7 separate regions of the Homo sapiens genome follow, and all the other regions are linked to region 6. The links are contacts of gene promoters, found by promoter capture Hi-C in blood cells and fetal thymus (Javierre and others, 2016). All regions are on one chromosome and are shown on one strand. Each heading gives the region's core, a stretch centred on a gene start or on the middle of the fragment in contact. The rest is flanking DNA. Distances are from core to core; before and after follow the strand shown. Region 1 overlaps PALS2 (protein associated with LIN7 2, MAGUK p55 family member). Region 2 overlaps PALS2 (protein associated with LIN7 2, MAGUK p55 family member). Region 3 has its middle 7.2 kb from the start of PALS2. Region 4 overlaps GSDME (gasdermin E). Region 5 overlaps PALS2 (protein associated with LIN7 2, MAGUK p55 family member). Region 6 holds the start of NPY (neuropeptide Y). Region 7 overlaps PALS2 (protein associated with LIN7 2, MAGUK p55 family member).

Evidence for each region. Contacts are between HindIII fragments. The CHiCAGO score rates a contact against its expected background, and 5 or more counts as called.
Region 1: a fragment that was not itself captured here is called in contact with the fragment with the promoter of NPY in region 6 in 7 of 17 cell types (M0 macrophages, M1 macrophages, M2 macrophages and 4 more); the score reaches 9.1 in M0 macrophages.
Region 2: a fragment that was not itself captured here is called in contact with the fragment with the promoter of NPY in region 6 in 1 of 17 cell types (naive B cells); the score reaches 5.3 in naive B cells.
Region 3: a fragment that was not itself captured here is called in contact with the fragment with the promoter of NPY in region 6 in 1 of 17 cell types (megakaryocytes); the score reaches 5.0 in megakaryocytes.
Region 4: a fragment that was not itself captured here is called in contact with the fragment with the promoter of NPY in region 6 in 1 of 17 cell types (megakaryocytes); the score reaches 5.4 in megakaryocytes.
Region 5: a fragment that was not itself captured here is called in contact with the fragment with the promoter of NPY in region 6 in 2 of 17 cell types (erythroblasts and naive CD4 T cells); the score reaches 5.8 in erythroblasts.
Region 7: a contact is called between a fragment that was not itself captured here and the fragment with the promoter of NPY in region 6, in 12 of 17 cell types (M0 macrophages, megakaryocytes, M2 macrophages and 9 more). The highest score is 12.6, in M0 macrophages.

What each region holds. Positions count from the first base shown.
Region 1 is chr7:24,652,320-24,655,270 of GRCh38, forward strand. All of the region lies in intron 5 of PALS2 (protein associated with LIN7 2, MAGUK p55 family member), which reads left to right. Among named protein-coding and RNA genes, the nearest start is that of PALS2, 80 kb to the left of the region's middle. The HindIII fragment of the contact is 458 bases long and covers 1,123-1,580 here.
Region 2 is chr7:24,688,750-24,691,628 of GRCh38, forward strand. It overlaps PALS2 (protein associated with LIN7 2, MAGUK p55 family member), which reads left to right. Exons shown (of 12, transcript NM_001303037.2): 12 at 1-2,879. Among named protein-coding and RNA genes, the nearest start is that of GSDME, 67 kb to the right of the region's middle. The HindIII fragment of the contact is 6,755 bases long and covers 1-2,879 here.
Region 3 is chr7:24,564,876-24,567,686 of GRCh38, forward strand. No RefSeq gene overlaps it. Among named protein-coding and RNA genes, the nearest start is that of PALS2, 7.2 kb to the right of the region's middle. The HindIII fragment of the contact is 4,178 bases long and covers 1-2,811 here.
Region 4 is chr7:24,707,333-24,710,314 of GRCh38, forward strand. GSDME (gasdermin E) reads right to left here. Exons shown (of 10, transcript NM_001127453.2): 6 at 2,892-2,982; 7 at 795-922. Among named protein-coding and RNA genes, the nearest start is that of GSDME, 49 kb to the right of the region's middle. The HindIII fragment of the contact is 447 bases long and covers 1,161-1,607 here.
Region 5 is chr7:24,602,956-24,605,933 of GRCh38, forward strand. The region is part of intron 1 of PALS2 (protein associated with LIN7 2, MAGUK p55 family member); the gene reads left to right. Among named protein-coding and RNA genes, the nearest start is that of PALS2, 31 kb to the left of the region's middle. The HindIII fragment of the contact is 1,179 bases long and covers 743-1,921 here.
Region 6 is chr7:24,282,675-24,285,485 of GRCh38, forward strand. It overlaps NPY (neuropeptide Y), which reads left to right and starts at 1,516. Exons shown (of 4, transcript NM_000905.4): 1 at 1,516-1,601; 2 at 2,567-2,754. The coding sequence starts at 2,567. The region is part of intron 2 of LOC107986777 (a long non-coding RNA gene); the gene reads right to left. The HindIII fragment of the contact is 8,579 bases long and covers 1-2,811 here.
Region 7 is chr7:24,669,094-24,671,793 of GRCh38, forward strand. The region is part of intron 9 of PALS2 (protein associated with LIN7 2, MAGUK p55 family member); the gene reads left to right. Among named protein-coding and RNA genes, the nearest start is that of GSDME, 87 kb to the right of the region's middle. The HindIII fragment of the contact is 3,027 bases long and covers 1-2,700 here.

The sequences.
Region 1 (2,951 bases), core at 102-2,601, 370 kb after region 6:
TTTGGCCCAAATTCCTACATAGATTTTGCATCTGGTGAACTAACTGAATACCATGAAATGCAAGGACATTTAGCCTTGTTTAAACATAAGTTTTCCACATTCCATACCCTCTCAAACTCTGCTTTTCACTTAGCATTTAGAGCTGGGGAAATGAATTCAAGTAGGAGAGGAGGAGTCTTATAAGTCCGAGGTAGCCTGAGGCGTGTCCTCCCATAAAGAAGTAAAGAAACTATAACATGAAGGCTTCCAAAAGAACATCCAAATTGAGACTTTTTTTTTTTTAAATGAAAAGGGGAACATTACTCATATGCTGGAATAATAGGCATAAACCAGGGCATCTGCAAACCATGGGCATCCTACTGAGATGCTATAGGGAAGCAAGGGCATTTTGCGTCTTCAACTCTTTCACTAAAATCTCCACCATGTAGTGCTGTGGAGCTAGTCTCAGCTCTGGATTGCTGCAAGAGCAAATGAAAGCCAAGAACTCTTCCCTACCACGGTAATGTTTTTCAAAAGCATAGTCAGTAGATGATCTTTATCAGAATCGTTTCAGGTGCTTGGTAAAAGTCCAGAATCTGCTATGGGACATAAGTATCTATGTTTTAAATTTTGAGGGCCAGAGTGAGTTAGAAGTAGCCAATTCTGAAGTTCTTCAACTTTCTTATAGCTTAGATTTCCGGGGGCTATTCGTAATTCCATTTGTTTATTAAGGCCAACTGATAGGAATTCTCTCTTATTCTTTGGAACCAACATGACCTGGACAACTAGAAACAATATAAGAAAATATATTACAGGACTGTTTCATTCAAGGATATACATTAAAAATTCTCAACAAAATATTAGCAAATCAGATTTGATTGTGTATATAACAAAGATGATACAACATATCCAAGTTAGATTTATTATCCCAGGTATGCTAGGAGAGTTTCATATTAGAAAATCCATATGTATGTAACTAAGCACATTACCAGATGAAAAGAGAATAACCTCAATGGAGAATTTGATAAAATTCAATGATTTTTAAAAAATGATTAGTAAATTAGGAACAGAAGGGAAAAGCCTTAATTTTATTACAAAAAAAAAAAATAGAACAAACATTATTCTGAATTAACTAATGTTAGAAGCTTTCCCTTTAAAGTCAGAAACTGGCCTTGCAGCTGGTCTGCCTGAGACCTCTAGTGCCAACCCCAATACCCCACGAAGTTTAATTTCCACTCACGAAATTCCACTTTCGTTTTCATTATAAAATGAAAAAGCCCTCACAAACCATGAAAAACTTGCCAGATTTCAAGCACAATTGTGCACTGGTAAAAAGGAACTGCCCTCAGATGATACAGCAAACATTATCTGTTAAAACAGATGATAAAAAAAATCTTCAGTTTTCCTGAAAGAAAGTAGAAATAGGCAATATCTCTGATACTAAAGAGGTATGTCTGCAAACCAAGGAATGGTGATCTTCATTAACAATCCCAGTGTTCAGACATCTCTAGCAGCGAACACTTTGACCATTACCAGACATGCTGAGACAAAGCAGCTAACAGAAATGCCACCCAGTGTCTTAAACCAGCTTGGTGTCAACAAGCTTAAGGAAACTGGCAGAAGCTGGATGGAAAAGTACCACTTACTATTGGGGAAGTGGTGATCTTGTTCAGAATTTTGATGAAGCTTCCAACAGTGAGGCAAACTGAATTGATTCAGCTTCTAAAAAATAATACAATTTCAAGAATTTTAACTGCTTTTAAAATTTTTGTTTTATATATGATAAAATGTAAGTCTATAAATTCCAAGACCCTTGGACACTGCTTTTTAATTATTGATTATATACAGTTATTTATTGGCAATTAATTAGCCAGAAAATAGTTTAAAACAAAGATAAAGCCTTTGCCTAGTTAAAAAAAAAAAAAGAAACTAGAGAAGGATGCTCACTAGCACCACTTATATTTAATATTTTCTTGAAGGATCCATAAGTACAGTATGACAAAAATAAATTATACAAGCAAAATGTTTGGAAAGGAGGCAATAAAACTTATTTACAAATATGATCATGTTTTTGCATAGAAACCCCTCAAAACTACAACTTATTAGAAATAATAGAGTTTACCAAGGTACCTGAAAATAAGATGAAGACACAAAACTCAATTGCATTTCTGTATGTCATCAGCAAACGTCTAGAAATGTAACTATGACATCATTTATAGTAGAGTCAGAGAATGTCACATTTATGTCTAGGAATAAATTAACCAAAAAAATTCAAGACCTCTACACAAAGGAATTATGAAGAGGATCTAAATAAGCAGGTATATCATGTCATGGACAGGAAGACAATATTGTGAAGATGTTGATTTTTCACTCATTAACTTGTAGATTTAATGGAATTCCAGTCAAAACAGGGTTTTCCATGGAATTTGATAAGATGAATAGCCAAGACACTTTTGAATCAGAAAAGCAGGAATGGGGTCTGATTATTAATATGTAGGAATTAAGATATTGTGATGTTGGCATAGGAAGAGACAGCATGATCAATGGACTTTTAGAGAGCTCAGAAAGAGACCTACACATACATATTACTTTGATATGTGACAGAGATAATGTTTTTCAATGTGGAAAGGAGATGATGCAATGAATGGGGGGAACCTGGTTATTCTAGGGATACTGTTTGAAATTGTGTTTCACTCTACACAGAAAAATCAAGTAAAAGGGGACATGTGTTCAGTAAACATATAAAGATATATTGAAAATCATAATGTGATATACCATTAAGTTGGTAAAAATTATAGCTGTGAATCAACAGCATCTTTTCTACATTGCTGGTGGCAGTGTGTATTGGTATAAACACATTGGGGAGAAAAGTTTAATGTCTCTTAGAGTTAAATATTCACATATATCAAGCTGCAGTAATTCCCTAGAGCAATTCTTACGTATGTACAGCTGGAAACATGTTAATAAGCATA
Region 2 (2,879 bases), core at 183-2,682, 410 kb after region 6:
TTATATAATATATATAAAATGTTTTGTATATTTTTTACATATCTGTTAAAAAATGTACTTTGTTTTTTTGTTTGTTTGTTTTGAGATGGAGTCTCTCTCTGTCACCCATGCTGGAGTACAGTGGCGCGATCTCAGCCCGCTGCAACCTCTGCCTCCTGGGTTCATGCGACTCTCGTGCCTCAGCCTCCCAAGTAATTGAGATTACAGTTGGGTGCCACCATGTCCGGCTAATTTTTGTATTTTTAGTACAGATGGGGTTTCACCATGTTGGCCAGGGTGGTCTCGAGCTCCTGACCTCAAGTGATCCACCCACCTTGGCCTCCCAAAGTGCTGAGATTACAAGCATGAGCCACTGCACCTAGCCAAGAAGTGTACTTTTTGTTTAATGATTACCGAAAGAAGTTCTCCTTTAGAAGCATTGACTTATACAAATTCCCACATTCACCTCAGTTAATATCTTCCTTTAGGATTCTTGGATAATAGAAATTCTTCCTAAAACATACTCAGAGATGCAGCTCATTATTAAATTAAGGTAACCACATTCTGTATTGTTGCTAGCTTTTCATGTAAACATTATTCACACTTTAAAGGATTAGGTGTTTAAATATTGATGGTCATCTTTGTCTGGTGTTAGGTGCCAGACACCTGGCTGCTGAATTTGTTTTTTCCCTCACCAAAGTTGTCATTTGGAACGCCAGCTGGGAGGACTTTGAAGGAAAAGAAAATATATGACAATAGGCAGTATTGACACATTGTTTAAAATCTTTTTCACAATAAAACAAAACACCCAAGTTGTCATATTGTTAAAGTTGGAAATCTATAGGTTTTTCTTTTTTTTTTTTTTTTTCTTTTTTTGATTCTAGATTTCATGGCCAGAACACAAATTCACGTTTCTTGTCCTAGGACAGGGAATTGGTGACAAAATGGATTATACTATTTTAATAACAGTGGAAACTTTCAAACTACATGTGTTTACACCAAATTCTTGGCTTCTCAAAGCAACATGAATTAAAGCACAGTATCAAGGTGATGCCCTATGACAATGTTTCAACACACACTTGAAATTTTAAGAGAAATTTCAGTTCTTCACTCAGGAAATGTGCTGTATTCTCTAATGTACTTTCATGCTGCAGCATGGAGCCTCTTTAAACAGCTTTGGGATAATTATAGCAGCACAAGAAGTTTATCTGCAAAATATTTCAATCATCTTGGTACAATAGATGACTTTTACATCATGTATATTAGCCTTATGTGATATAAAATGTATTACTTAGAAAATATACTTAAAGGAATTATTTCTATTATAAATGGTATTCATGATTGACTACTTAATTAATGCACATTAGATTTCTCCTAATATAAAATGAAATGATGCAGTTTAGTTCATTTCAGTCTAGATGCCCGTACTAACAAGAATACAGTTAGATAAGTTCATTGTATCTCAATGAAGAATCATTGAACTTGAAACCCAAGTCCCAAATGAATCTGCAGGAATGAGCAGTGCTCTGCGGGGGCAAACAGCCCCAGAGGTCCCAGGGTTCTTCCTAGGTAATGAGAGTATAGCTGTGATCAAGGAAATGTGAACTTCTCTTTTGGGAAGATCTGCGATAATTAGCTTTATGGAAGCGAAAATGGTTTAGAGTGGTGTTGAGCAATTGTTAAGAGTTGAAATAGACACACACATGCATGTGCTTTTGGGAAACATGATGTGCCAACGTATTAATGTGCCTGAGGGCTCCTTGTGGATAGGTCAGTGTCCACATTTCAGCACTCAGGGCATGACTGTACACAACCTAAGACTATATATATATTTTTTCATTTTCAAATGTACAAATACCCATAGAGGTGATGTGCCTGGATAAGTCATTTAACCATAGCTTAGTGAAATAAATGTGATGGCCCTAAAAAGTAGAATTTTCACTTTCATTACAGCCATGCCTTTATTATGCAGTCTCCATTTCTGTGTGATATTTGGTAATATCACATGTCAAATACATCAGGACTTTGTTTATTTTGGCTAACTCTAACTATACAATTGCTGAACATAGCTTTCTGAAATAGAAATTATAAGAGAAACCCAGTATGCCTACAGCATTAGTAGCCTAAATCCTAGATTCTAGAATCCAATAAATTTATAGTAGTTCTTAAGAAGTTTCCTTTAAAGCAACAAATAGATTATTAAGGCAAATTTAGATAATAACCCAAGTTAGCAATAAAACCATGTGACATTATAGATTATGTCCAGATACTAACTGCTTTGACCATAATATCCCAATGACAATAAAAAATGATCCTTGGTTTAAAAATTATTAAATGGTACTTATTTTTATGTATAACAAGTGTCATGATCCCAGTGACTGGAGTTGATTTTCAAGGTGGATAGCCATAGAGTTAGGTAAAATTATTTTGAATTGGCAAACTAAAGATAACAATTTTGAAAATTGCTCAAAATAATAATCTACTTAAATTTTACTTTTGTAACTTCTGAAACAGTACTCCATTATCCAGAAATCACAGGCTAGAGAGCCAATAATTTTGTAGTAATGAACCTTAACTAAACATGAAAAAGGCAATCCTGAAGTTTTATGTACATAGATAGCAGTTCATTTTTTAAATGTTCGAGTTGCCATATATTATGTATGTGTGTGTGTGTGTGTATATATATATATATATATATATATATATATATATATATACAGCTATGTGTATAATATGTAAAATTCTCCCAAAATGTATGAATATAAAACTGAATGTATTCATTCATGTAATTATAACTAGCATTCTAAAATTTTTAATTACTCCCATTTCTTTGACATTCTGAAACTTTTTTTAGATTGTTTTAAAACGCTCTGGTTCCACCTTGAAGCTGATAATCTTTC
Region 3 (2,811 bases), core at 310-2,809, 280 kb after region 6:
TTTTCAGTCTAGTTTTCTATCTAGCTATCATATATACAAAAAAACCAACTGCATTTTATAAATTTTGATTAGATCTACCAAATCTTTCTTTTTATTATTTATTATTTATTTTAGTTGATTATCTTGGGTCTTCTAGAGAGACAATTTCATCATCAGTAAATAATGATAACTTTATCTCTCCCTTCCAATATTAATACCATATCTCTTACTTATCTCTTTTCTTTCTTATCTTATTGTACTGGCTAGACCTTCCAGATCAAGGCTTAGCAATAGTAGATAAAATGGAAACTTTGTCCTTTTTGGGAGGAAAGATAATTTAATTAAGAGCATTCTTAGCTTATAATTATGCACCAAAGTAAATTAGCAAATGACTATTTGCTGTCCTACAACTACACTTTTGTGAAAATAATAATAGTAATTACACTCTTCTCTGAAAAAGCAACTATATCAGGCATTTGATAGGTTTAATTAATAATTCTTAAAACACCCTGCAAGGTAGGCCTATTATACTCATTTTGCATTTGAGAAAAGAAAGATTCTTATATACTGAAAAACATTCCTAAGGTTACTCAGCTCATACGTGGTAAATCTAGTAGAACTTAGAGTTATCTGATTCTAAACTCTTCTTTTGTACCGTATTACTTGCACTATATAAATACTATTATGATTTAATTCTGATACATACAAATGGATCTGTCTCATTGGTCAATTGGTATAGGGTTGCAATGATATACTTAATATATCTTAGGTATTCAACTTGTGAGAATTATAATACTGACTTTGAATGACAGAAATTATAATTATTACTCTTAATTTAAAAATAGAATTAATCAAATAAATATTAAGTACCTACAATATGTCAGTGTCTTCATAATTATTTACCTAACTATATCATTTAATAATATACAGGTTGAGCATCCCTAATCTGAAAATCTGAAACTTCCTCAATGCCAACATGATGCTACAAGTGAAAAATTCCACATATAAGTACTTAACACAAATGTTATTTTATGCATAAAATTATTTTAAATATCATATAAAATTACCTCAGACTATGTGTATAAGGTGTATGTGAAACATAAATAAATTTCATGTTCAGACTTGGGTCCCATCCCCAAGATATCTCATTACGTATTTGCAAATATTCCCAAATCCCAAAAAATCTGAAATCTGAAACACTTTTGGTCCCAAGCATTTCAGATAATGGATCGTCAACTTGTATTGATTAGACTGTGACTTAGCATTTCATAAAGGTATAGCTTCTGCCCCAAATAAATCATCTATAAGTCAGAACTCTATTGGTGACAAGTGATGGAAACTCAACTCAAATTATCTTAAATTTAAAAAGGTCTCATGAATTTATGTAACCAGAAAAGTCTAGAATTAAGGCTGGCCTCAGGCATGACTAAATCTTCCCTTTTTTGAGATTCTCAAAGTGTTGATTTGAAAAGAGAAAAAAAAAACAAATTATCTTTCTTCCTACTGCAGTACAGAAAAATCCAAAATTTTCTTTATTTAGGTAACATGTCTACTTCTTGCACTAATCCCTATGGCTGAAGGGATGGGGCACTCTTATTGGCCAGGCCTGGGTCACATGGCCACTCTTGTAATTTAAGAATATGGGGAGGATATGGTGATTAGTAGTCCCACCAGAATCTAATGCAAAATAGATAGCCTTTCCACAAATGCTACATTGTTAAAATACACACATACAGTAAGTCTGTAGATCGTGGTGGTGAATCTGAGTTAAATAACATGCTACAGAGAACCTCTAATTGTAGTAACTCGTACTATAATTCATTCCAGTTGAATTGACCTGAAAGTTACAAAGCACTCTGTGTATGAAGTGTGGGAATGAGCAGGAGTTTTGCAGCAGAGCTTCTTTAAACACTTCCTGGTTCTGAAGCCTGAGCCATTAACTCCTCTTCACTTGTTTTCTCATCTGAAAAATGGGAGTAATAGTAATGATCCCCATGGGATGCTCCATATGAAGGTTATACACCAGTGTCTGCCACACAGGCATGAGCTCAATAGATAGTTGTCATTCGCTATTATTACCAAAGCAGGATTTTTTAAAAAGACTTGGTCTTTCATATTTATAAACAGCTGATATTTTAAGGAAAAACTAAATGCCCTGTACTTCCTAGCATGAAGATGGCATTGCTTTAAAATGGGCCATTAACTTCCCAGATTGTTAACAGCCAAAACAGCTTGCCATGGCTGCCCCGACTCATACACATACACCCCGACTTCCATCATTGCTTCCACGTCCCTTATCCTATCCATCTTTCATTCATTTATTTACCAAAAATGTCTTAAGAGCCTACTATGCATCTTAATGACTTGCTCTTACCCTCACGACTTCTCCTCAGTCCTTTGGAGGAGCATCGGCCTCACAGTTTGACCCTTTGTTTTTATGTTTAATCACCATTGACACCCTTTTTGCCTGTCATGCCAGAAGATTCTTCCAGAAGACCTCCACTGCCCTCCAGGACTTCGTGCCTGTCTGTGTTTTCAATGGGGAAAGGTACACACTATACTGACACTATATATTTTTACAAATTTTTAAGAAAGGTTTTTCCTGTTTTCCTATGTCTTTTTAATCTTCTTTTTGATACTTGAGTAGAAGGATTTTTTTTTCAGTTCATATATATAATGGGAGAGGTAGAATTTAGAGGCCGATTTTAAATGAGTATCTAAAAGGGTTAATTACATATAGATGCTGGCTCCTGGTGAGATAAAGTCAAGCTCAATTAAGGTCACTGCTTGAAATCTGATTGTCTTTCTAAGAGCTTTTCATCTGTAACTTGC
Region 4 (2,982 bases), core at 134-2,633, 420 kb after region 6:
ATCTGGGTGGCTGGAGGGTTGGCAGCTTGTGTGGCTCTCACCATTTGTACAACTAAGAGTTAAGGAACTTGACCTCCCCAGGATATCCTTCTGCTGCAAAACACAACAGTGCAAAAGCCTATTTATTTCTCTGTTCTAAATGGAACAGGCTGACTTTATAGATTCCACCACACGACCCCCTTGCAGTAGTCTGAGTAGTGGCCCACCAACATATGTTACCTGGAACCTAAGAACGTGACCTTAGTCTTTGCAGATGTAATTAAAGTAAGGAAATCAAAATGAGATCATCCTAGATTGGGGTGGGCCCTAAATCCAATGATGGTGTCTTTATAACAGACAGTAAAGGAGAAGACACACACACACACACAGAGGGGAAGCCCACATGGAGACAGAGCAGAGGCTGGAGTGCTGCTGCCATGAGCCAGGAACACTAGGAGCCATCCGCAGCTGGAAGGAGACAAGGCAGCAGAATTCTCTCCTAGATCCTCTGGGGGAAGTGTGGCCCTGCAGACACCTAGACTTTGGACTTTTGGGCTCCAAAACTATGAGAGAATAAATTCCTGGTTTTTTAAGCCCTCAGGTTTGTTGAGGCAGCCCTAGGAAATTAACACCTCCCTCCACCCGATGCCAGCTACCTGTCTGCACTTAGAAAACGCAGGACCCAAGAGTCAGAAAAGAGACAGCTGTAGGGAGAAAAGGAGGCGGGGGAACCTTTAACACAATTCCATCCTGCCTCCTCCCCTGTTCCAGAAAACCCCAGTGAAAACACTGCCTTGAGATGTCTCAGGGCTCACCACTGGTTCCAGGACCATGAGTAGTTCATCATCAAATAGGACCGCCTGGAAGATGTCACTCAAAGCTGTCTGTTGTGGCTCAGGCAGCTCCGCAAATGGATGGAAATTCCTCTCCAGGAGCAGGGTCGCTGTGAAAACAAAGCACACCCAAGTCTCATGACTGCGATGCACATCTCACGACGTCGGACAGCAACTCCTGCTTTTTATACCTAATCGTCATCAGTTCTTTCATGGATATTCCCAGCTGCATAGTCAGTCATGGAACTCAGAAATAAACATCAAGTTACAAGCCACCCTGCATATTTTTCAATAACCAAAGGGAGGGAGGAGAGAGAGAGAAAGAGGGAAGCCAAGTTTTGTATTTCAAGCTTCACTCTTCTCTGATGACTCACTAAACATTAAGTCTAATCAATTATTTTCTGGAAAAGTTATTTAAATTCTTCTTTAGCATGACTTCTCTAGAAGTAAATTATCAAAGCTGAATTACTAAACAAGTCAGTGCTTTTACAATGCTTTAGAGCCATACAAATTCCAAAATACATTATTTTTCACGTCCTTTCTTGTAGTACATTGCAGATTTTCTATCCTTTAATATTTAATGCCCATTTTTAAAGGGGCTGGCACCCTATTTTCATGGCAAGCACAGCTATTCTTTCTCTATCCTTTGCTTCTTCATGAGTCCTCAAGCTGAGCACTGAGTCCCCGAAGCTATTGCCTCTGCAGGATGCTTAGGGGCCTCTCCCCTTAGAATCTCTTTTCCTTTCTTTGTTTTTTGGTTTTTTTGTTTGTTTGTTTGTTTTTAAGATACTCAGAAGCTTCTTGTAAATTAAGTCTAGTGGAGATTTTATTTTTAAAGATTTGATAAAGGTTTCGTATGCAGGGATGCACACTAATACATCAATGTACCACCCATGAGGATGGACGATTCCAACTAGCAGTTGTATAAAGCCCCACGCAGAGGAACACAGAACATCAGTAACCAACATATTTCAAAACTCTGCTATACACACAACTGTCTTTACCAGTCCCAGCCTGAAGAGAGAAGCTGTCCTGGTCGGTCCAGTCGCACACCCAGCTCCCACTGCACCCCTGCTGACCAGAATGGCCAACTCGAAGGGTGGGCCTGTGGGCAGGACAGAAGGAAGCTGCAGCACGGGACTGCCTTCTGCTACCCAGTGGCTGCAGGGCCATTTTGCTGTGGTTCTAACCCACAATGACAAAATCCTTCAAGTGGCAGCTGAAAATTGCACCCACTTATCCATCTCAAGGAAGCCAAGATAGGAAAGCCTTATATTAAAATTGGGCCTTTGTTGTCATTTCTTCAAATACGGACATTTTTGCTACAAAAGCATCCTGGTTTGGGACTCATCGAAGCTCCACAGATGTAGTCACCAGGGCTTCTGTGCTTACCCTCCAAGCCAGCGCGCACACGGAGCGGTTCCTAGCTCTTTGTGCTAAGCTCTCACCTATTTGTTTCTCCTTTTCCTTGCCCATCTCCTCCTATATGCTGCGCCCCCACATCCCCGACAAAAGAAACCAGCTTTCTAAAGCACAATACGCTGTGAGGAGCAAAAGGAATTGCTGCAGGCACATCCTGGGCATGGCCCCTCTTCCTCTTTGGCACCATGCAGTCCATGCCATGTGGATAAAGAGCCTCCAAGAGAGCATTTTGCAAGGCTGACAAAGCATTGCTTGTCTTGACAATGAAGCCCAGAATATAACAAAACAGATGCAGAACGGGTTCTCCATCCTCGCGGCTGATGAGCCATTCTTAGTAGTCAACAGGGCTTCTGTGCTTACAATGAAAGAAAAATGCCAAGCCCCTGACTGCCTCACTCTTCAGTCTCCGACCCCTACCCCATGGAGCGTCATTCTCCCCACCCTTCCTAAAATACAGCACCCACAACCTGGGGCTCCCTAAGATCCAACCGAGGTGAGTCCTGCCGAGTGGACTGGGCCTCGGCGGCATCACCTCTCTTCTCATATGTTTTCTGTGAGTCACTGAGGGGTCACTGATGCTGAAGGCCACACCACCTCTTGGGATACAGGGCTCAGTTGGCCCTCAACTGCCCACTACTCCTGCCCTGCTGGCAATACCTTGCTTTAAAACACTTAATGGTCCATCCTGGGAAGATATCCCATGCGCAGCATCTGGCATGTCTATGAATGCAAACTCTCGAAAGACCAG
Region 5 (2,978 bases), core at 82-2,581, 320 kb after region 6:
GAGGTGCCTTCCACCATGATTGTAAGTTTCCTGAGGCTGGGGAGCCATGTGGAACTGTGAGTCAATTAAACCTCTTTTCTTCATAAATTACCCAGTCTTGGGTCATACCAGCATGGGAACAGACTAATACAGTAAGAAGGCATCCCTCTGTAAACCAGGAAGTGAGCCAGCACCTTGATCTTGGACTTCCCAGCCTTCAGACCTGTGAGAAATAAATTTCTGTCATTTAAGCTACCCAGGCTATATTTTTGTCATAGCAGCCTGAATTAACTGAGACAGTGAGCTTAGGACTAGCTGAGAAAACCAGCAGCTTTGCTGCCCAAAAGTTGTGGAGTGACTTGATTCAGGCTAGGGAAGAAAGAGAAGACACACAAACTAAACCTGTGACTTTGCTGGTGAAAAGTGGTGGATTTGGTTGGAAACAAATAGAGAAAACCTGCTGCTGTGCTAATTTGACATTGTGGACCAGCAGAAATTTAATAGGGAAATCCTAGAAATGAGAGAGCCATGGAAGGGTTAAGATGAGCTCTCCACATAGAGACCCAGGAGAGCCTGGAAAAAAGTGAAAGCTGATGGGGACTTGACAACTGGCTGCAACTTTGAATGCATTTCCCAGTCCATCACAGCTCAACTCACTGAGAGTGAAGTCTTAAAAGCTTGAGGTTTTTGAACACAGCCGTTGCTGATTTGTCCACAACATTGGCTCAAATGGCTGTTGGAGCACAATATTGGTCCATCATTAAGCTTTACAGACATAGGTACAACCCCAAGAGAGTCAGACTAAAATGTAAAAATAAGAATTAAAATATTAAACGGATGTCCTGACAGCATACCTTGGAGGGAAACAGATTCTGCAGTTTAAGTCTAGACCAATTATTTAAAAACTCAAACTCTGAAAAAAAAATAATAAATCTAGAGTTACTGTTAAGGGTTCCATATTCAACCCCAAACTGCTAGACATGGCAAAGAAAAGAAATACCAGGAAAATGTGAGTCATCATCGGGAAAAATAGTCAATAAAACGGACTCTGACTGGGCTCAGTGTTGGATTTAATGAAGACTTCAAATTGGCTATTTAGAATATATTGAAAGAATTAAAGGAAAATACAGTCTGGGCATTGTGACATGTGCCTGTAGTCCCAGCTACACAGGAGGCTGAGGTGGGAGGATTACTTGAGCCCGGTAGTTCAAGACTATGATCACACCTGTGAATACCCACATCAGTCTAGCCTGGGCAGTAAAGACCCTGTTTCTTTCAAGAAAAGAAAAAAAAAAAAAAAAAAGGAAAAAAGAAAAATATGTGAACAAGATGCTAACAGGACACAATAAATAGAGAACCTCAGTAAAGAAGCAAACTCAAAAAGAACCAAGTAGAGATTTTAGATTTGAAAAGCACAGTATTTGAAATGAAAATTTCATTGGATAGGCTCAACAGATTTAAGATGGCAGAGAAAATGTGAAGATCAATAAAAAGTATTCCAACAAGAGAAAGAAAAGAGATTTGTAAGAATAGGGAACAAAGCCTTGGAGACATGTGGGACAATGTCAAACATTCCAACACACATGTAATGGGAGTTTCAGACAGAAAGGAAAGAGAGAGACAGAAAAAAATATTTGAAGTAATAGTGGCCCCAAACCATCTCAAAGTTTTACTAAATTCTGGTAGAAAATAAAACTTAAAAAGAATTTCAGTAAGATGAAATAAGCACACTATACCCTAACTTGGCAGAGACAGTGAGCTCTGGTCCTTTCAGCTTCTGATAAGGGCATTCCTGCCAAGATGGGGGCTCCACCCTCATGACCTAGTCTAACCCTAATCACCTCCCCAAAGACTCCACCTCCAAATACCATCCCACTGGGAATTAGGGTTTTAGCATATGAATCTGGGAGGGACACAAACGCCTAGGCCATAGCACTGATCAAGCTTCGGTTATCACCAACTGAGCTGGGGCCCTGGGGAGGTACATGGGGACAGCCCCAGGCAAGAAGGCCACAGAGTCACACTGTTCTTACCTCAAGCTCTAGCAGTTTTGCCAGAATAAATGTGCCTCATTTTTATAACGGCCTTTGGGCAATTTTCAGCACCCTTAAAAGACTGCCTTTGATGATGCTGTCCAGTTTTATATTTGCTTTTTTGCAGAGGGGAACTGCCAATCTCTTCATGCCAATATTATCAGAAATTGAGTAATGTTTGTAATAAAAGATTTTCAACATTTTACTATTACTAAACTTTCATAGTCACAACTTTGTTATCAAGTGAAAGAAATCATTGTGATATGGGCAATATTGTTTCTAATGATGAAATTCATTAGGATGTTCACTGCAGCATTTCTTGAAGACATGGGAAAAATAGAAACAACTGCCATGTTCCTCAGACGCTAAATAAACTACACTCATCCTATGAATCTGCAACAACTAAAAGAATAACATGGTTTCATATGTACTAATGTGAAATGTTCTCCAAAATACATTTTTCTGTGGGAAAATAAGTTTCATATATCACTGATATAGTAAGATATTACTTATATAAATACAGTAACACATTATGTTTTAGATATTTATATAAGTATAGAAATGAAGCATATATCTTCATATTTTCTACAGATACAAATATGTAAATATGTAAGAATAGGTCTATAAAGACATAAAGAATAGGTCTATAAAGACATAAAGAATAGGTCTATAAACACATAAAAACAAAGTATAACATGCATTACCCCTAGGGAAAGAGCAGAGATGGAAAGCTGGCCAAGTTAAAAAGGCTCTTGTCTCTATCCAGTAATACCTGAAATTTTTTACAAAATTAATTTATGTATACCTGTGTAATAAAACAATAATTTAACAAATGGATTGCCCAAGCTATCAGCTATGTATATGGAAAGTCAACATCATGAGGATTCCTAGAAGTTTCTATACAAATTCACAGAGATTAAAGAAAACCATTTGATGAAATAAAATTAAGCACCCTTATATAAAAGA
Region 6 (2,811 bases), core at 266-2,765:
TCTAAGTTAGAAGATGTTTTGCACTTTTACCGAAGGCTGTGTCTTGTAAGCACCCCCGAGCAACTCTGAGAGCCTTGATTTTTGTGTCCTCAGCATATGTTTGTGTAATACAGAAAGAGAAGCAGTTGCCAAGTGAAAGGGATGTTGGTCTCCAAAATTATAGTTTGATCCCACAAACACACAAACACATACATGCAAAGGATTGTTTGCTTCACGGTTTTTGATATTTAATTCAATGCTGTTGGAACAGCACAAAAACTAAGTGTCAGTTTAACAGAATCACTTGTCCTTTTAGCATTAAAATAACATGGAACTTAATGCTTTAATTTCCCAACATGCCTTTTTATTTAGAAAGATTCAGACTTATATTTCATTTAGAAATAAAATGCCATTTTATTTAGAAAGATACAGGAGCATTCATTCACGGAACTTTCAGATCTCAGTCCACTGCATAAAATCTTGATCCTGTAATAATAGTTTCTGTATCTTGCATATTCATTCAACAGGTTTAACGCGATGAGCAAATTAATGTTCATCGTTTTTAACATGTTTCATCTTAATCAGAACCCACATTCTCAACGTTAATTGAACGTACATAGGACTATACAAGGGTTAGTAAATAAGACAGAAACTGTTGTTCATTTAACCACCGTCACTTTGGACCAAAAAAGAAAAAATATATATTTTTAAAATTGAGCTTAAAAGAGTCTCTAGAAGCTGGAAGCGTGGCTCTTTTTCAGCAAACTGGGGGAATAGGTTTACCGTGTTCCCCCTCTGGGGAATTTTGAGTCGCCACACTCATGTCTCGACCGAGCCTGGCTCGCTGCGTCTGAGCGAGTACTTGAGGAAGGCTGATCTAGAAAAACCAGCTGAGAGAAGGGGCAGAAGCCCCTGAAACCACGGGCGGGGGTGGGGTGGGGAGCGCAGCTTTGGGACCCTCTAGCCGGAGACTTCCGGCAGCTGCCTCCGACTTGTTCTAAGTACAGGAAAAATCTGTGCGCCCAGTTGCCTCACTCCAACAGCGCGCAGTTGTGCCCGGCGAGGATGCCGCGCTAGTCGTGGAGATGCCCCACCACAAAGAGGATTCAGGTGCTTCCTACTCCGGCACCCAGTGGGTTGGTAGTCCTGTTGGCAGGAGACAAGAATCGTCTGGGCTGCTCCTATCTCTGGCAGGACTAGACGGGGCGTGAAGGAAAGAAGGAAAGAAGGAAAGCAGGGATCGGGCACTGCCCGAGGGCAGATACTTGGGCTTTGGTGTTGTCCAGCGCGCTCGGAGTGCGCTGCCTCGCTCACGCGGTCCCAGGCCCCGCTTCTTCAGGCAGTGCCTGGGGCGGGAGGGTTGGGGTGTGGGTGGCTCCCTAAGTCGACACTCGTGCGGCTGCGGTTCCAGCCCCCTCCCCCCGCCACTCAGGGGCGGGAAGTGGCGGGTGGGAGTCACCCAAGCGTGACTGCCCGAGGCCCCTCCTGCCGCGGCGAGGAAGCTCCATAAAAGCCCTGTCGCGACCCGCTCTCTGCACCCCATCCGCTGGCTCTCACCCCTCGGAGACGCTCGCCCGACAGCATAGTACTTGCCGCCCAGCCACGCCCGCGCGCCAGCCACCGTGAGTGCTACGACCCGTCTGTCTAGGGGTGGGAGCGAACGGGGCGCCCGCGAACTTGCTAGAGACGCAGCCTCCCGCTCTGTGGAGCCCTGGGGCCCTGGGATGATCGCGCTCCACTCCCCAGCGGACTATGCCGGCTCCGCGCCCCGACGCGGACCAGCCCTCTTGGCGGCTAAATTCCACTTGTTCCTCTGCTCCCCTCTGATTGTCCACGGCCCTTCTCCCGGGCCCTTCCCGCTGGGCGGTTCTTCTGAGTTACCTTTTAGCAGATATGGAGGGAGAACCCGGGACCGCTATCCCAAGGCAGCTGGCGGTCTCCCTGCGGGTCGCCGCCTTGAGGCCCAGGAAGCGGTGCGCGGTAGGAAGGTTTCCCCGGCAGCGCCATCGAGTGAGGAATCCCTGGAGCTCTAGAGCCCCGCGCCCTGCCACCTCCCTGGATTCTTGGGCTCCAAATCTCTTTGGAGCAATTCTGGCCCAGGGAGCAATTCTCTTTCCCCTTCCCCACCGCAGTCGTCACCCCGAGGTGATCTCTGCTGTCAGCGTTGATCCCCTGAAGCTAGGCAGACCAGAAGTAACAGAGAAGAAACTTTTCTTCCCAGACAAGAGTTTGGGCAAGAAGGGAGAAAAGTGACCCAGCAGGAAGAACTTCCAATTCGGTTTTGAATGCTAAACTGGCGGGGCCCCCACCTTGCACTCTCGCCGCGCGCTTCTTGGTCCCTGAGACTTCGAACGAAGTTGCGCGAAGTTTTCAGGTGGAGCAGAGGGGCAGGTCCCGACCGGACGGCGCCCGGAGCCCGCAAGGTGGTGCTAGCCACTCCTGGGTTCTCTCTGCGGGACTGGGACGAGAGCGGATTGGGGGTCGCGTGTGGTAGCAGGAGGAGGAGCGCGGGGGGCAGAGGAGGGAGGTGCTGCGCGTGGGTGCTCTGAATCCCCAAGCCCGTCCGTTGAGCCTTCTGTGCCTGCAGATGCTAGGTAACAAGCGACTGGGGCTGTCCGGACTGACCCTCGCCCTGTCCCTGCTCGTGTGCCTGGGTGCGCTGGCCGAGGCGTACCCCTCCAAGCCGGACAACCCGGGCGAGGACGCACCAGCGGAGGACATGGCCAGATACTACTCGGCGCTGCGACACTACATCAACCTCATCACCAGGCAGAGGTGGGTGGGACCGCGGGACCGATTCCGGGAGCGCCAGTGCCTGCACACCAGGAGATC
Region 7 (2,700 bases), core at 196-2,695, 390 kb after region 6:
TCTCAGTCATGCAAGGTCATAAACCTGATTTTTGATAGCACATAAGAGTGATTCATCTTTTACTGCAGGCAGCATTCATTAAGGTTACAGAGTCTGATGTATAGAATAAAATAGTACTGATGAGAAGTATAACCATTAAGTGAACCAAGCACTCATTTTATGGTCTTTGCATTCATTTCTCTATTTGCATATTTACATAGAAAGTTAAATAATCATGTCAGAAGTATGCTTGATGAGAATGGAATTAGATCAAGGAATTGGATGATGTTAGTGATTTACTGTAATGACTAATACACATTTGTCTCTGACTGTAGGGACTAATAAACATTTGTCTTTGTTTTTGAAATACGTGGATCTTTACTTGTGAACTTAGATGTTCTCTCCCTTGAAGAAAGCAGGAGATAAGCTAACATTGCTTTCATTCCCATTGCTGTGCTTCTATTTCTGACCAAGCCCCCTTTTAACATGGCATTCCTTTAGGTATATTAATGCCTTTAAGCTATTTTGAGTCAAATCCTAGGCTAACTTTAACCCTATCTCTTTTAATTGAATTTTAGAGTTTCCCTGGTTTTGTCCAGTATATTTTGGGTTTAATTCTCAGTGAGTACTCTTATTGCTAAAATTCTTAAAAGTTAGGGAAATAGCCTTGTCATTGCCCCCCTGTGCTACTTATAATCCCTTCAGTGTAAATCTTCTGATTCTACTGCAGGCATTGTAAATCACTAAATTTAGACAAATCCTACTAAAGTGGTTAACAGAACAAAAACTTCACTGTAATCAACGTATGTTAAAGCTGCACTTGTGAAGTAAAAAGTTTTTCGCTTTTATCAAATTCATATGTGCCCAATATTTTTAGCAAGTAGTTCTTAAAGACATATAATGGGGAAAAAAATAACCCCTTCTCTTCCCCTGCCTCACTTATGAAAAACAGTCACTTTTCATTGTTTTTGCTATTTCTTTTGGTTGTGTTCCATATTTCTTAATAATGTCTTTAGTCTGCTGTTTCCTGCTTTATGCAGTTTAGGCCTTATCTGTTGACTTCCTGACTGTCCTTCCAATATAAAGATAGCTGTATTTTCAGTTAGTTCAATTTCACTTTCTTGAACAGCCCTTTCCCCTTCTGTGACCCAGGAATCTCTGGAGTTCTGTTTTTCTTTATACTACCTGATTTTATATATATATGTGTATACAGTTTTTTGTTGTTTTTTAAACTAAAGACTTGTTTATCCAGTAAGTCAGGTTCTTTTTTTTTTTCCTGGAGACCTCTGTCTCAGAACCCTCTGTCTTTCTGCTTCAATGAGGACTACATGCTGTCTCTCTGGCTGCCCAGCTGTTAACACTGGAGTAGTTCCCTTTGTTGTTATCCTGGGTTGAAGCTGTTGTTCCTGGATCCCATTCTTTCTCTTTCTTGGTTTATCACCTTGTTTTGCTGGGGTACATCCTCTTGTATGTGGAATGTAATGTCTGCATCTTTGTGTTTTAAAATGTATATTTTCTGCCCTTTATTTGACTAATTAGCAGAGAATAGAATTCTGGATTGTAAAATTCAAAAGCTGTTACAACGTCTTCATCATCGCCAAAAGAATCTCTGTACCCATTTCCCACCAACTTCCTCACCCCCTGCTGCCAGGAGCAATCATGAATCTTTCTGTCAAAATAGATTTGCTTATTTTGGACATTTTATATACTGGAGTTATACAATATGTGGTGTTTTGTGACTGGCTTCTTAACATGTCAGATCTCATCTGCATTGTAGCATTTATCAGTACTTATTTTCTTTTCCTTGCTAAGTGATTATTATATGGCTATACCACATTTTATTTATATATTCATCAGTTGATGGACATTTGGACTGTTTTATTTTTAGCTATTGTGAATAATGCTACACTCAGCATTTGTATACAGGTATTTGTGTGGACATATGCCTGTTTCTCTTGGGTATATACCTTGGAATGGAATTTGTAGGTTATATGATGACTGTATGTTTAGCCTTTAGAAGAACTTCCACACTGTTTTCCACAGCAGCTGTGTATATACCCTTCACAATCCCAGCAGCATATGAAGTTTCCAGTTTCTCTACATCCTCACCAACATTTGTCATCTGGCTTTTTGATTGTAGTCATCCTAGTGGGTGTAAAGTTGTATCTCATTTTGGTTCTCATTTGCATTTCCCTAATGTCTGATCATGTCAAACAACTTTTCATGTACATATTTGCCATTTATATATTTTCTTTGGAGGAATGTCTGTTCAAACTGGTTGCCCATTTTTCAGTTAGGTTATTTGTCCTTTTCTTAAGCTGTAAGAGGAGGTCATATTATATTCTGGGTACAGGTTCCTTGTTAGATATGATTTGCACGTATTAATATTTTCTCTCATTCTTTGTTGACTTCTCGTGTTTTTGATGGTGTCCTTTGATATACAAAAGTTTTTCATTTTGATGAAGTCCAAATTTATATGTCTTTTGTTGCTCATGCTTTTCATATCGTATCAAGTATGGTACCATATCAAGGCTTTCCCTAACCCAAGGCCACAAAATTTTACTCCTGTATTTTATTTTAAGAGTTTATACTACTGACTCTTACATGCAGATTATATGATCAATTTTGTGTTCATTTTTGTGTCAAATGTGAGGAGGGGGTTCCAACTTTATTCTTTTGCTTGCACTTATCCAGTTGTCACAACACAATTTGTCAAAAAGA